2 separate regions of the Homo sapiens genome follow, and region 1 is linked to region 2. Evidence: promoter capture Hi-C in human tissues and cell types (Jung and others, 2019). All regions are on one chromosome and are shown on one strand. Each heading gives the region's core, a stretch centred on a gene start or on the middle of the fragment in contact. The rest is flanking DNA. Distances are from core to core; before and after follow the strand shown. Region 1 overlaps MIAT (myocardial infarction associated transcript). Region 2 holds the start of ASPHD2 (aspartate beta-hydroxylase domain containing 2).

What was found. The method cuts DNA at HindIII sites, captures the fragments that hold promoters and counts their contacts. A contact is called where the count stands out against the background at its distance.
Region 1: a contact is called between a fragment that was not itself captured here and the fragment with the promoter of ASPHD2 in region 2, in 1 of the 25 tissues and cell types used here (lymphoblastoid cells).

Annotation. Positions count from the first base shown.
Region 1 is chr22:26,674,399-26,682,096 of GRCh38, forward strand. It overlaps MIAT (myocardial infarction associated transcript), which reads left to right. Exons shown (of 5, transcript NR_033320.3): 5 at 1-2,080. All of the region lies in intron 1 of MIATNB (MIAT neighbor), which reads left to right. Among named protein-coding and RNA genes, the nearest start is that of MIATNB, 5.4 kb to the left of the region's middle. RefSeq lists enhancers at 6,346-7,170, 7,171-7,698. The HindIII fragment of the contact is 3,185 bases long and covers 570-3,754 here.
Region 2 is chr22:26,423,633-26,430,509 of GRCh38, forward strand. It overlaps ASPHD2 (aspartate beta-hydroxylase domain containing 2), which reads left to right and starts at 5,628. Exons shown (of 4, transcript NM_020437.5): 1 at 5,628-5,854. RefSeq lists silencers at 5,469-5,598, 5,719-5,778. The HindIII fragment of the contact is 9,826 bases long and covers 1-6,877 here.

The sequences.
Region 1 (7,698 bases), core at 912-3,411, 250 kb after region 2:
GTCTGGTAGTCAGAGTCTGCAGGAGAAGACAGTTCAAGGCAGGGCCTGGAGGATTGGATCAGTTTAGGGACAGGTCAAAGGCTGGCTTACAGACCTTAGAGGCAGGTTGCTTGGGTCGTTGAATGCTAGTCTGGTGCTGAGAGCCCTTTTCTCTGGCAACTGTGGACTCAGAGCTAACCAATTGTAGTTGGCAGTGGGGGTGAAGGGTGATCCAGAGGCCTGAGCTGCAGAGGGCACAAGAGAGAAAAGATGTCTTAGAAAGAGCTTTGAGAACATGCCTTGGCTGCTGGCAGGGACCTTGGATGGGGTAGTCTACACCCGGAAGTGCCTGCCTGCCATCCTCTAGTGGCTGCCTTGCTCCATTTCACTCAAAGCAGGAAGCTCACACCTCCTATTCCTGAAACTCCTCTTTGTTTAACTGCAAAGACTTGATGCTGCTAAGGATCTACTATGTGCCAGGCACTGCTCTGGGCGCTGGGACCTGCACCTGGGCTTTTTCGTCATGGTGCTTTTATAGCCTAGTGGGAGAGTTGGTGAAGTAGATAGTGATTCAGTGAGATGGGTGTTATGATTGGTCAGGGGTCTGTGGGAGCACCAAGGAGACAGACAAGATTGATGTGCACCTACTCTGTGCCAGGCGTGTGCCAGGCATTGGGGATGTAGTGGTAGTTAAACACCATTTGGTCTTCAGGAGCTTTAATTCTAGTGTGTTGGGTGCAGGGGGGTGGAATGGGGACAGAGAGACACCTAATCCACCCTGTGGTGGCTTTCTGGAGAGGGAGGCATCTAAGCTGAGCTGTGGCTGGGTGGAGTGTGGGTGGGGATGAGTTCCGGGCAGCGAGAGTGGTGGACACCAGTTTCTGGGGATCAGAGAGGATCCAAAGAGGTTCTGGAAGGTTCATGTGGAATGTAGCAAGAGATAGGAGACATGGACATGGTGCCGGGTCTGGTTGCCAAGAAGTTTAGATTTTATCCTTAGGCCTTGGGGAGCGACGGATATGATCTGAGAAAGGGAGTTAGTGGATTTGAGTTTTAGGCTGGCCATTTGGCTTTTCCAGCCCAGGTGGAACTCAGAGGAGTTTGCAATGGCCTCTGGCCACATTTTAGACAACTGAGCAGAACTTTTTGAAACTAGGAAGACCCTTTGGTCCATCTTTTGATAAACAGAATCCATACATGTCTACCCCAGTTGGAAGTATCTCTGCAATGACTGGAAAGTAAAGAGGACCAAGGTGAAAATAAAGGCTCGGAAGGGGAGCAATCTTGAAAACATGTCATCCCATGGTGGTGGGAAGTCCCTGGAGAAGATCAGGGGAAACACAGTCATAGGCTGCAAGTCTATAAGATAATTCCATTGGGGAGGGAGCCCATTTGTCATGCATGGCTGCAAGGGGCAGATACAAGTGTGGAGTAAGCTTGCAAGAGCTGATCCTGGTCCCAGAGAGGGAAAAATATGCCTTGGTGGGTAATGAACCTTTTGTTCCCAGAGGCAGAAGGATTGGGACTAGGCCAACATAGAGATTGGCGATGGTTGTGAGATTCTAAGAGTGTGTGTGCATCTTGACAATATTAGAGGAGGCTGAGCCCAAGCAGGCACATTCTCTTCGACCCCTCCCTCATTCAGTCTGCTTTGGAGTCTACTGAACATCAAGCTTGCTATGAGCAGGATCTTAGAGCTGAGGAATTGGCCTCCCAATCCGAACAGGTGTTATAATCCTTTCTTAATAGGTTGTGCTGTGGACCCAATGTGAGGGCTGTGCTGGTGTAAATGGTGACATGTTGAGCTGGGGGGATGCTTTCGGGGTGGGGGGACTGGTTCCATTCCATCAAAGGCCCTCTTGAGAGTCTATCCAGGGACCCATTGTTTTACTTTAACAGACCAGAAAAGATGTTTGTTTTCCATGTCATTACCCCCAGGGGATACCGAATGTGTGGGTAGAAATTTCTCTGTAGATTAAAAATCAGATTTTTACATGGATTCAACAAAGGAGCGTCACTTGGATTTTTGTTTTCATCCATGAATGTAGCTGCTTCTGTGTAAAATGCCATTTTGCTATTAAAAATCAATTCACGCTGGAAACATGACTGTGGCCTATGAAGCAGAAGGGACGTGCTGTTTAGGGGAGAGGGGGCAGCCAGTGGCATTCTCAAGGAGCAGGGGTGGGCTCTCTCGGTGAGTCAGCCTTTCCTCAAGAGTGACCCTAGAAGTCAATATAATAGGGTATTTTATTTTTTAATTTTGGTAAAATAATCATAACATAAAACTTCACCACCATAATAATTTCTAAGTGAACATCTTGGTGGTATCATTCACATTGTTGTGCAACCATTATCACCATTGGTATTTATTTTTCTTTTCTTTTTTTTAGAGATGAGGTCTTGCTATGTTGCCCAGGCTGGCTTTGATCTCCTGGTCTCAAGCGATCCTCTTGCTTCAGCCTCTTGAGTAGCTGGGACTGCAGGCGTGCACCACTGTGCCTGGTGGTATTTTTAAAAAATAACACTTCTTTATGCCTAGGGCAGTGCTTCCAGAAATCCAGGTTCTTATTGCCAGGGAATTTGTTTATTTTATTATTATTTTTTTTTTGAGATGGAGTCTTGCTCTGTTGCCCAGACTGGGGTGCAGTGGCGCGGTCTCGGCTCACTGTAAGCTCTGCCTCCTGGGTTCACGCCATTCTCCTGCCTCAGCCTCCTGAGTAGCTGGGACTACAGGCACCCACCACCACGCCCGGCTAATTTTTTGTATTTTTAGTAGAGACGGGGTTTCACCGTGTTAGCCAGGATGGTCTCGATCTCCTGACCTCGTGATCTGCCCGCCTCGGCCTCCCAAAGTGCTGGGTTTACAGGCTTGAGCCACCGCGCATGGCCTGCCAGGGATCTTATACTTCACTGGGGAGTCAAAGAGTTCCTTGGTGACAGAGAAAAAGATAGAGTTTAGTGTGTGATCGTGAAGGACTGGCAAATATAAGCCACACACATCGCCACTCTTCCCTTCAGCATCCTTGACAGACATTGCAAGTTGATTGCCTATCTCTCTTTGGGAACTTGGGTGCATTTTCAGGCTCTTTCTCAGAACAGTGTTCTGGGTAGCCAAGTTTTAAAAGAACTTTGGAGTCAGTCTTAGGATTGAGACTACTGATAATCCTCAGTTTGAATCCCAGCTTTGCCACACACCTGCTGTTAGATCTTGGGGATGATTGCCCTTCCCTGAGCCTCCATCGGCTCTGTAGAATGGGGAGACCACTCCCACCTCATAGGGCCATTGTGAAGGTTCCCAAGCGTTCTTGCAGAGCTAAGACAGCGCTTGATGCCCTGCAAGTGTTCCCTGAAACCTCATTCTGTGTTAGCACCAGATGATGAGATTGGGGGCCAGAGGTGCTCTGTTGGAAAGAAGGTCAGGAGGAGGTGGGGTGAGGGTGGGGGCAGTAAGGGATGGCTTTCTGGGAGAATCAAAACTTGAGGGGAACCTTGAAGGATGGGGAATAGTCAATAAATCAGGAGAAAATAGTGATGGTGCAGGGCATTTCAGGATGGCTTCTCCAAGATTCATTGGACTGGTTCGGTAGGAGATGAGGATATTGATAGGATATTGGGGTGGGGGCAGGGTGGACACTTCAGAGGAGGTTACAGATTGAGCTAAGAAGTGGAGGCTGGTCTGTGCAGCAGTGTTCAAGGCGTGGTAAGAAGAGTTGGGAATCTCCCACGGCTGGCAGAACTTGTGAGCCCCCCTGCCCTCAAAGGACTACAAGACCCCTAATGAGAAGAGAGCTTCCTCCCAGTCCTCCTTTCTCTTCCTCCTCTCCCTCCCTCTATTCACCCAGCAGCTGTTTACTGAGTCCTTCTTTTATAGTGGGCACTGCCCTAGCCTCTGGGATGCCAGGTTGCTGGCCTTTCTGTTACCAGTGCACCTATTTGCTCTCGCCTGGGTACCTACTTTTGCACTGGCTTTTCCCGTCACTTAGAATGTATGTCCCTCTGGTTTTCACGTGGCTGACTTCTTGTTGGCGCTCAGCTGAACATCACTTGTTCAGAGAAGCCTCCCCTGACCACCCTGTCCACAGTACTCTATCACTGCAGTTCTCAAACATTTTGGCTTCAGGCTCTTTACACTCTTGCCATATGACGCACAGTGCTAGCTGATTGCCTGCCTATCTTTGGGAACTTGGGTGCATTTTCAGCCTTTTTCTCAGAAAAGTGTTCTGGGCAGCCAGGCCCAGTTGCAGGTGTTTTTTCAAAGGCATTGTGGATGCTGGCCACTCACAAGGCTCAACTGGCCCCTGTTTCATTCATTCAGCAAAATGTTGTTGAGTCCTACTGTGTGTCAAATACAATGCTGGGTGCCCAGGGCACAGCAGACAGGCATCACCCCTGCAGAGTGCAAAGCCCAGGAGAGGCAGTGAATGGAAACTAGATTTGGATGGGGGACAGGGACAGAAGGAAACCATTGTAGAGACTCTGCCATGTTGTAAATTAAAACAGAGACGTTTTAAAAAGACTTGTTTATTCATGGAAAAATCACAATAACAATAATAAACCCATCGCATATTAACAAAAATAACACATGCTTTATTATGAATAACCGTATTTTCCAAAGCAAAATAAATTTAGTGAGAAGACAGCATTATTTTACTTTCTTAGGGTAAATCTCTTTAATGTCTGGCCTAATAGAAGACAGATTGTGTTGCATTCTGATATCTGCCTCTGCATTTAGTCTGTTGCATGTCAGTGTCGTGTAGCTCCTGGGAGTCCAGTCCGCTTTGTAGGTGCTCTGTGGCCCAGCCAGAGCTGTAGTTCACAGGAGCGACCAGGAGATGGTGGTGTTGCACCAAACCCTCACTGCTTATTATTGGAAACTCAGTTCCTCTCAGGGGCATTTGGGGCTGGATGCTCTACGGGATACTCTGGAAATCACAGAGTTTTAGGGCATTGAGTAGGACTTGGCATGGGTGGGACAAGGATAGGGACTGGAGAGAATGCAGCTGAGGACAGAAACTCTGGAAAACCACTCTTCATTTTTGCGGAGGGCTCCTTTTCTTTTCTCTCTCTCTCTCCCTCCCTCCTTCCCTCCCTCCCTCCTTCCCTTCCTCCCTCCTTCCCTCCCTTCCTCCCTTCCTTCCTTCCTTCTTTTCTTTTTTTTCCTTTTTTTTTTTATGGAGTCTCACTCTATCGCCAGGCTGGAGTGCAGTGACGCGATCTCGGCTTACTGCAACCTCTGCCTCCCAGGTTCAAGCGATTCTCTTGCCTCAGCCTCCCTAGTAGCAGGGGTTACAGGCGCCTGCCACTGCACCTGGCTAATTTCTGTATTTTTAGTAGAGTCGGGGTTTCACCATCTTGGTCAGGCTGGTCTTGAACTCCTGACCTTGTGATCCACCCGCCTCGGCCTCCCAAAGTGCTGGGAGTGAGCCACCTTGCCCAGCCGAGGGCTCCTTTTCCTAACAGAGGCCAAGCCAAGTGACTTCCCCTCTCTAAGCCTCAGCTTACTCCTCCACCAAATGGGCAAAGTACGCCTTTGGCTTCCATTCCATCCTGCCACTCTCAGCAGGGTTCACTATTTTGATAACACTGGTGTTTTCAGCAATGCAGGATCCCCCAACCATCGACCTCTGAGGCCTAGACTATTCCAAGAACTCGCTGATGCTGTGAGCTCTTCCTGCAGGCAAAACTGTTCCTTCTCTCTCCACCTCCAAACACACCTTCATTCACCTGGATTGAGTTAAAGTGGCCGGTACTGTTTTCCGAGTGTTTGCTCCATGCAGGCTCTGTGCTGAATGGTTTGGACACATTGATGTATGAAGTGCTCAGAAATAGTTTACGAGTTTCATTACCACCCCCATTTTATAGGAGGAGGCACTGAAGCTTAGAGAGGTGAAGAAACTCACCCAAAGACACATGGTTGGAGGATGGAGAAACCTGGATTCAAGGTGGTCACCACACCCATGGGGCCGCATCACCCCAAAATGCTGACTCCGTCTTGTGGGATCGAACCCAGTTACTCTTTCTATGCTGGTTTCTCTCCTGTCACTCCTTCTCCCTGCAGGGTGTTCATTGCCCTCGGGGATCTGAGCACAGTTTGTGATTTCATATTTATTGGCTCATTGACTGCTCCCCTGACTGTGAGCACCACAAGGGCAGGGGCAATGCAGCCTGCTTCACAGCTGTACCCTGGGTACCCAGTACTGCACTTGGCACAGAGTTGGGAGTCAACAACATTTTACTGAATGAATGAAACAAGAGTCAGTTGGGCTTTTCTAGTGGGTGGTGTCCAGGCAAATTAGGGAGTAGCCAGATCCACCCCTTACTGGTTATGTGACTTAGGGCTGATGACTTCCCCTGTTTGAGCCTCAGTTTCTCCATCTGTAAAATGGGAATAACTGTGTTCCTTTCTTTTTCTTTTTCTTTTCTTTTTTTTTTTTTGAGACGGAGTTTCACTCTGTTGTCCAGGCTGGAGTGCAATGGTGCGATCTCAGCTCACCGCAACCTGCACCTCCTGGGTTCAAGTGATTCTCCTGCCTCAGCCTCCCGAGTAGCTGGGATTACAGGTGTGTGCCACCATGCCCGTCTAATTTTGTATTTTTAGTAGAGATGGGGTTTCTCCATGTTGGTGAGGCTGGTTTCGAAATACCAATCTGAGGTGATCCGCCCACCTTGGCCTCCCAAAGTGCTGGGATTACAGGCATGAGCCATCGCGCCCGGCCCAACTGTGTCCCTTTCAATGAAGCTACCCGGATTTGGCAAGAGAGCATATGCAACGTGTCTGCATGTGATGGGCTCTCAATTCCTGTTTCATGTGTTGATGGTTTCTCTTGGCCTTGGGCAGGTATGGCAGGCCAACAGGGTTGGGGGAAGACAGAGTGGCCTGAGGATTAGACCGGGGAGCAACAGGACCAAGTCATGGAGCAAGCTGGCCGGCAGCTCTGGCCTCTTTATCCTCTGAGCCTGCCTGTGGTGAGCACTCAAGAAGCCACAGTCATGGCGGCCCAGTCCCTACAGTCATCTCTTGCCTGGCCCATGGCCTATAAACAGATCCTCCCCTGCAAAGCACCCACAACAGCGGCGTAGCCATGTAGCCAGGGGGACAGAGACCGCTGTGGGGAGCTGGTGCTGTTCAGCCTGAAACACTAGCGATTTCCTAATCTTCACTCAAGAGGCCTCTCCTGTGTGAAGGAGGCTTCCTCCCAGAGGAAAGCTCTGGAATGTAAGGAATGTGCCAGAGCCTCCAGCCCAGGCCCCAGGAAAGAGAACATCTTGGAGGCACAGGGCTGAGGGGGCATTTTCCCAGCCATCTCAGGGACGCCAGGCCACCGGGGAGCTCATACCAGACATCACCTTCTGGCAGTGGGGTCAGGCCTCAACCGCCTTTACGCTTTCCCAGGTTCTCAGGCTGGAATGACGGAGGCCCCGTGGACTCTCACGGTCTTTGATTTCAGCCTCTCGCCCAGCACCTGCACCCCTGGATCTGGGGCCAGACCCTGTACTGGGCACTGAAGTACAGAGAAAAATGAAGCTGGCTCTTGTCTGAGCCAACTGGAGGTGGGACAGGTCCAGTGTCAAGTCTGGATTCCCATACTGTGTCACCTTGGACAAGTCACGTCAGCTCTCTGAGCCTCTGTATCCCCATTTATAAAATGGGGGTAACACTAGGATCTTCTTTCTAGGATGGTCACAAGGGTGAAAGGCCCCCATGTTCCTGGTGCCATA
Region 2 (6,877 bases), core at 4,378-6,877:
ATAAAGGACACATTGATCTCTGGGCATCAAAGTGTGGCAATACTCTAAAAGTATGGCCAACCAGGAAAGCTTACCCAAGCATCAGTGTCCAGAGTTTGTATTGTGGCTTCATTATGTAGATATGATTGATTGAATCACCACCTATATCATTGAACTCAATCTCCAGTCCCCCTCCCTTCCCTGGAGATGATACCATTTAGCTCAAAGTCTCCACCCTCTAATCACATGATTGGTCTTTCTGGTGTGGCCAACCCCCATCCTGAGTTATCGCATTAGCACAAACTATCGAGTAGGGCCTGAGGGGTCTACCACAAATGCACAGATAACAAAGACACACTTATTATTCAAGAAATTATAAAGGTTTAGGGGTTAAGAATTGGGGACAAAGACGAGCTAAATTCTTCATTATACACACATGTTATGTTTTCTAATGTTGCTTGACTTGATTAGTTATTATTTTGTTAATGATGCATGTGTCTGTGCTCATGAAGAATATTAACCTGTAGCATGGTAGGTTTTGACAGATACCTTTTATACAATTTTTTAAAGTTTTCTTTTTTCTTTTTCTTTCCTTTTTTTTGAGATGGAGTTTTGCTCTTGTTGCCCAGGCTGGAGTGCAATGGCATGATCTGGGCTCACTGCAGCCTCTGCCTCCCAGATTCAAGCAATTCTCCTGCCTCAGCCTCCTGAGTAGCTGGGATTACAGGCACCCACCACCATGCCCGATTAATTTTTTGTTGTTGTTGTATTTTTAGTAGAGATGGGGTTTCACCATGTTGGCCAGGCTGGTCTCAAACTCCTGGACTCAGGTGATCCACCCACCTTGGACTCCCAAAGTGCTATAGCGTGCACCACCACACCTGTAGTGTGAGCTACCGTGCCCGGCCTAAAATTTTCTTATATTCCCAGTTTTCTAGGAGTTTTAATCATAAATGGATGTTTGACTTCTGTCAAATGCTTTTTCTGCATCTGTTGAGATCATGGTGTCATTCTTCTCCTTTACTTTGTTAACAGAATGAATTCTATTAAAATACTTTCTGATGTTGAACAATTCTACATTCTTGAAAAATAATATTTAATGTGAATAAAATTTTTCTTTTATTTAAATTTTTTTGAGACAAGCTCTCATTATGTTGTCCAGGGTGGTCTTGAAATCCTGGTCTCAAATAATCCTCCCACCTCAGCCTCCCAAGTAGCTGAGATTACAGGTGTGAGCCACCATGCCCGGCTTTAAAAACCATTTTAATATCACAAATAACATACTAATACTTATTTGTTAAAAGTGAAACTTACTTTTTAAAAGTTAAAAGTTAAGCTATTTCCAAATATTTGCAAATGCAAAGCGTATTCCTGAAAAGATGAATAAGAAATTTGTTATAATGGCTGTCTTCACTAAAGAAAACCAACTGGTTGAGGGATAGGAGAGTGACGCGGTCCCAGTAACTTTCTGCATGTTGTTCCGGAGTATTTAAACACCTTTGAAAATATTAAATTAAAACATCACAAAAAATGCTGGAGTTTCCCTTGCCTACTGCTCCCAATTCCTTGTTCCTTCTTGGTCCCCCCTGAAGTTACAACTCTTAGGAATTTGGTGTGCTTCCTCTGAGGGATATTATCTGCATTTACAAACGTAATTATTTTGCATTTTATATAGGAGAACATACTAGTGTGTTCTTCTAGTGCTTTCCCTGCTTTTATATAAATACATGTGTATACCCACATGTGTACAGGTGCGTGTTATGTAGATAAAATCATACTACAATCATAATTCTGCTTTTTTTTTAATTTTCACCCTATTATTTTTCTAGGAGCTTTATCCACGTTGCTATATATACATCTAGCTCCTGCTTTTAGTAGCTTCACAGTATTACGTAATATGAAAAAACAACTAGTCTTCCATCTATCCCAGAATCCCTCTAGGTTAGATATAGCATAGCGAAATTGTTGGTTTCAGTGTATACATATTTGTTGTTGTTTTAAGGAATACTACCAAACTGCTCTCCAAAGTGATCATACCAGTTTCTTTAATGCACCAAGCAAGCACATCTCCCTCCCTCCCTCCCTTCTTTCTTTCCTTCCTTCCTTTCCTCCTTCCCTCTCTCCCTCCCTCCCTCTCTCTTTCTTTCTTTCTTCTTTCAGAGAGTTTTGCTCTGTTACCCAGGCTGGAATGCAGTAGTGCAATCTCAGCTCACTGCAACCTCTGCCTCCTGGGTTCAAGCAATTCTCCTGCCTCAGCCTCCAGAGTAGCTGGGACTACAGGCGTGCACCACCACACCTGTAGTTAATTAATACAAAAATTAATACAAAACTTTTTGTACTTTTAGTAGAGACAGGGTTTCAACATGTTGATCAGGATGGTCTAGGACTTCTGACTTCAGGTGATCCACTGGCCTCGGCCTCCCAAAGTGCTGGGATTACAGATGTGAGCCACCACGGCTGGCCGCAAGCACATTTTCCACTGACTTGCTGCAACCTTGATTGAGCAAGGCATGTTTTCTCTCTGGGCTTCCATCTGTAGGAGGAGGGAGTTGAGTGGACCCCGTGAGTGTATGAGACGGTGTAATGATAGGTTGTGTAGTCTCGGAGTGGGTAGGATGACTGCGCTAAAGAAGGCAGCGAGAGCAGGAGGATGCAGGTGGCAGCCAAGCTGAAGGCAGGCAATTCAGATGCCCTTGGTCCTCCTCTCCGCCTCTCCATGAGCACAGTAACAATTTATCTGGAGCTCTCACCCAAAATCCCCCTCTGAAAGGCATGGATATCCTTTTCTGCAGAATTCACCTAGTAGGGTCTCCAAGGGGTTGACAGAGGCCCAGGTCATTTCCATTTATTGAGACTCCCAGCTAATTAAAAAGATGAAGAAATGGTAAGCAGGGCTAACAAAATTGCGTGTATAGTAATATTGCCATTGAACAAATAAATACTAACAAATGCAGAGCAGTGGTCTACAGATATCATATAATTGCACTGGTCAAGGACACTTATAGGATTGATAGACAATATTAATTCATAATACAGTACAGATAAGATGGTGCAGGAATGGAACACATATTTACAATATAAAAATATCTTTTTTTTTTCAAACCTGCCAGGATAATGCTGTGATAGAATGTATGACTGCCTTTGGAGAATTCTAAGTTTGAGCAACTTTCTGAATGTGAGATGAGTCAAATACCCCCCACTCCATTTTCTCCACCCCACCCAGGCTCAACCACTCTTAGGCTGACAGTGAAGACAGACATCCCATTTAATGTTTCTAAATCTGATGCCTGTGTTGATTATCCACACTTTGAGCAAATCTGTGCATATTATGGTTTCCCAATGCAAGTGTTTTGGTTTATTTTAGTAGAATAAAAGAGAAAAAACATTCTTCCTCTTTTGGAGTTGAGAAAAGGAGAGAAATGACAGAGATGAAGAAGAGTCTAAGACATGGAAGAGGTGTATTCTGGGACATGGGAGAGGTGTACTCTGGGACATGGAAGAAGTGGGTTCTGGGACATGACAAACTGGGTTCTGGAACAGGGAGGAGGTGGATTTTAGGCTATCACAGTAGAGGCAGATTCTTAGGTCAGGGACCAGGTGGATTTTGGGACAGAGATGAGAGGTGGGTTCTGGGACATGGTGGAGGTGGGCTCTGGGACAGGGAGGAGGTACATTCTGGAACAGGGTGAAGGTGGCTTCTGGAACAGGGAGGAGGTGGGTACTGGGACAGGGTGGAGGTGGGTCTTGGAACAGGGAGGAGGTGAGTTCTGGAACAGGGTGGAAGTGAGTTCTGGAACAGAGAGGGGGTGGGTCCTGGAACAGGGAGGAGGTGGGTTCTGGCACAGGGTGGAGGTGGGTCCTGGGACAGGGAGGAGGTGGGTCCTGGGACAGGGAGGAGGTGAGTTCTGGAACAGGGTGGAGGTGAGTTCTGGAACAGAGAGGGGGTGGGTCCTGGAACAGGGAGGAGGTGGGTTCTGGCACAGGGTGGAGGTGGGTCCTGGGACAGGGAGGAGGTGGGTCCTGGGACAGGGAGGAGGTGAGTTCTGGAACAGGGTGGAGGTGAGTTCTGGAACAGAGAGGGGGTGGGTCCTGGAACAGGGAGGAGGTGGGTTCTGGCACAGGGTGGAGGTGGGTCCTGGGACAGGGAGGAGGTGGGTCCTGGGACAGGGAGGAAGTGCGTTCTGGAAGAGGGAGGAGGTGCGTTCTGGAAGAGGGAGGAGGTGGGTTCTGGAAGAGGGAGGAGGTGGGTTCTAGAAGAGAGAGGAGGTGGGTTCTGTAGCAGGAAGGAGGTAGGTTCTGGCACAGGGTGAAGGTGGGTCCTGGGACAGGGAGTAGGTGGGTTCTGGAACAGGAAGGAGGTATGTTCTGGAACAGGGTGAAGGTGGCTTCTGGAATAGGGAGGAGGTGGGCTCTGGGACAGGGTGGAGGTGGGTCCTGGGACAGGGAGGAGGTGGGTCCTGGGACAGGGTGGAAGTGGGTCCTGGGACAGAAAGAAGGTAGGTTCTGGAAGAGGGAGGAGGTGGGCTCTGGAAGAGGGAGGAGGTGGGTTCTGGAAGAGGGAGGAGGTGGGTTCTGTAACAGGAAGGAGGTGAGTTCTGGCACAGGGTGGAGGTGGGTCCTGGGACAGGGAGGGAGGTGGGTTCTGGAACAGGAAGGAGGTACGTTCTGGAACAGGGTGAAGGTGGCTTCTGGAATAGGGATGAGAAATGGATTCTGGGACAGACATGAGGTGGCTTCTGGGCCATGTTAGAGATAAATTCTGGGACACAAGAGAGGTGGGTCTGGGACAGAGACAGATGGATTGTGGGCGGGCCATCCTACTCTATGCTCCCAGAACCCACCCATGCAGTTTCCCTGGCGCCCCTAACACATCCCGTAGCCACTGTTAGTCTCCCCCAGGTCTTAGCTCAAACGTCACCTCCTCCAAGCAGCCTCCTTGGGGCCTCCATTCGCAGCTCATCAGTCCCCTGGTCAGACAACCGTCCTGCCTGTACTTCCCCTCCTAAACCCTACCCGGGGGTGAGGGTCCCCTCCCGCTAGACGGTGGCTCACTGAGGGCAGGGCGGGCCTGAGCGCTCACCGCGCACGCTCAGCGCAGCTGGCAGGGACGGGGACCCAGGCTGGCCCATCATTACTGTACTGAGCGAATGAGTTTTCCATGAGACTAAGAATCTGGTTTGATTTGCGGTTCCATTCCAAGTGCCTGAGGGCCTCAGAAGTCCGTGTTGAGTCCATCAATAAAGGAAAGAAGGCGTTAGGGCGAGAGGAAGTGAGGTGGGGGGGAAGTGAAAGAGAATGAAAAGGAGGAAATGGAGACGAGGGCGACTCAGAGAGGAACAGAGAGACAGAGGGAGGGAGAACTGAGAAAGACACAGAGCGAAAAACGAAAGAGCGAAGGAAGCGACGCGAGCCTTTCTTAATGAATGACTGCACGCCCGTCGCCGCCTGCGCGCAACCTCGGGCTGGGCGGGCGCTGCGTCTCGGGGCGCACTGCCAGGACCCTCCGGAGCGGCGGCGGGCGCGGCCTCGGGTCGCCTCCCGCACTGCGAGCGCAGGTGCCGGGTGCAGGGGGGTCCCCGGCCCCGCCCCGCAGGCCCCGCCCCCCCGTACCCCCTCCCCCGGCGGCCCAGCGCGCGCGGCATTGTGGGAGTTGTGGTCTTCGCGGCCCCGCGGAGCGCAGCGCGGCGTCGGCACCGGCAGGGGCACCGGCGCGGCTTAGGCTCGGGCTCGGGCTCCGGCTCGGGCTCCCGCGGCGTGGGCTGGGCAGCAGCCAGGCGGCGGCTCCGCGGCGCCGGGCAGGGGCCGTCCGCGGGTCCGCGCCCTCGGGCGGCGGCGTCTCCTGGGTCCCGGCAGCCGTCCGCGCGCCCGGGCGCAGGTAAGCTTCGTCTCCGGGGGCTGCCGGGGCGGGAGGGCGGCGCGGCTGGGCCGACCCCAGGACAGGGGTTGGAGGCGGGAGCCCGGCAGCTGCAGGCCCACGGCCCTCCCTTACCGGCGCCGCCGCCGCCGCCGCCCCCGCCGAGGATGCTCCGGGACCCGGGCGCCCGCATCCCGGCCCGGCCGAGGCCAGTGCTCGTACGTGCTAAGCGCCGCCGCCTCGGAGCCGGGCATCACCCTCCCTAGACCTCCTCCTACTCCTCTTCCCTGCCCCATCGTGGTCCCTTCCTCCATCTCCCTTCTCCCCTGTGACCCCTCTTTCCTCACCTCCTGTCCCCTCCCCCAGCCCTCAGCATCACCCACTTCCCATATTTCACGTGGTGACCCTCCTCCCCTGTCCCACGAATTATGAGGCGCCATAAACCTCCTTCCACAATCTTGAGCTGATCGTCCACTTTTCCGGGCAACACTCACCTTTCCATCGTCCCATCCCCCTCCTCCCCTGACCTCCTGGTGGTCACCATCTGTGCTAACCCATCTTCAGCCCTCCCCTCTTTCCCACTCTCCAGGGCAGGTGGGTGCTGAGAAGCTGGCCAAGAGAGGGAAGGTCCCCAGGTCTGCACCGGGAAGGGCTGGCCCCACGGCATCTCTCTGGCTCCTGAGTGGAGAGGGTGACAGGCATCACACACCTTGCCCAGTGCTGCTCACTGGGGGGCTTCCAGGGTGACTTGGCCTCATCCTGAGGGTGAGCAGACACTCTTTGGCATTAGGCAGCCTCTGGGAATGGACATCTGAACTAGGCTGACCAGGTCAGGCCTGACACCGGCTCTCCCAGGTGTTCATGGTGTGAGAAGTTGTCTTGGATTGGACTTGCTCTCCAACTGGCCATGGATTTGGACTCAATTCCCCAGAGCCAACTGAGCTGGAAGATCTGGGGTTGCTTATTATTAAAGTGCAGAGCTGCAATGAGATGTCCCCATCCCTGATGAGGACAGAAATAACACAGATGACAATGAACAGATGT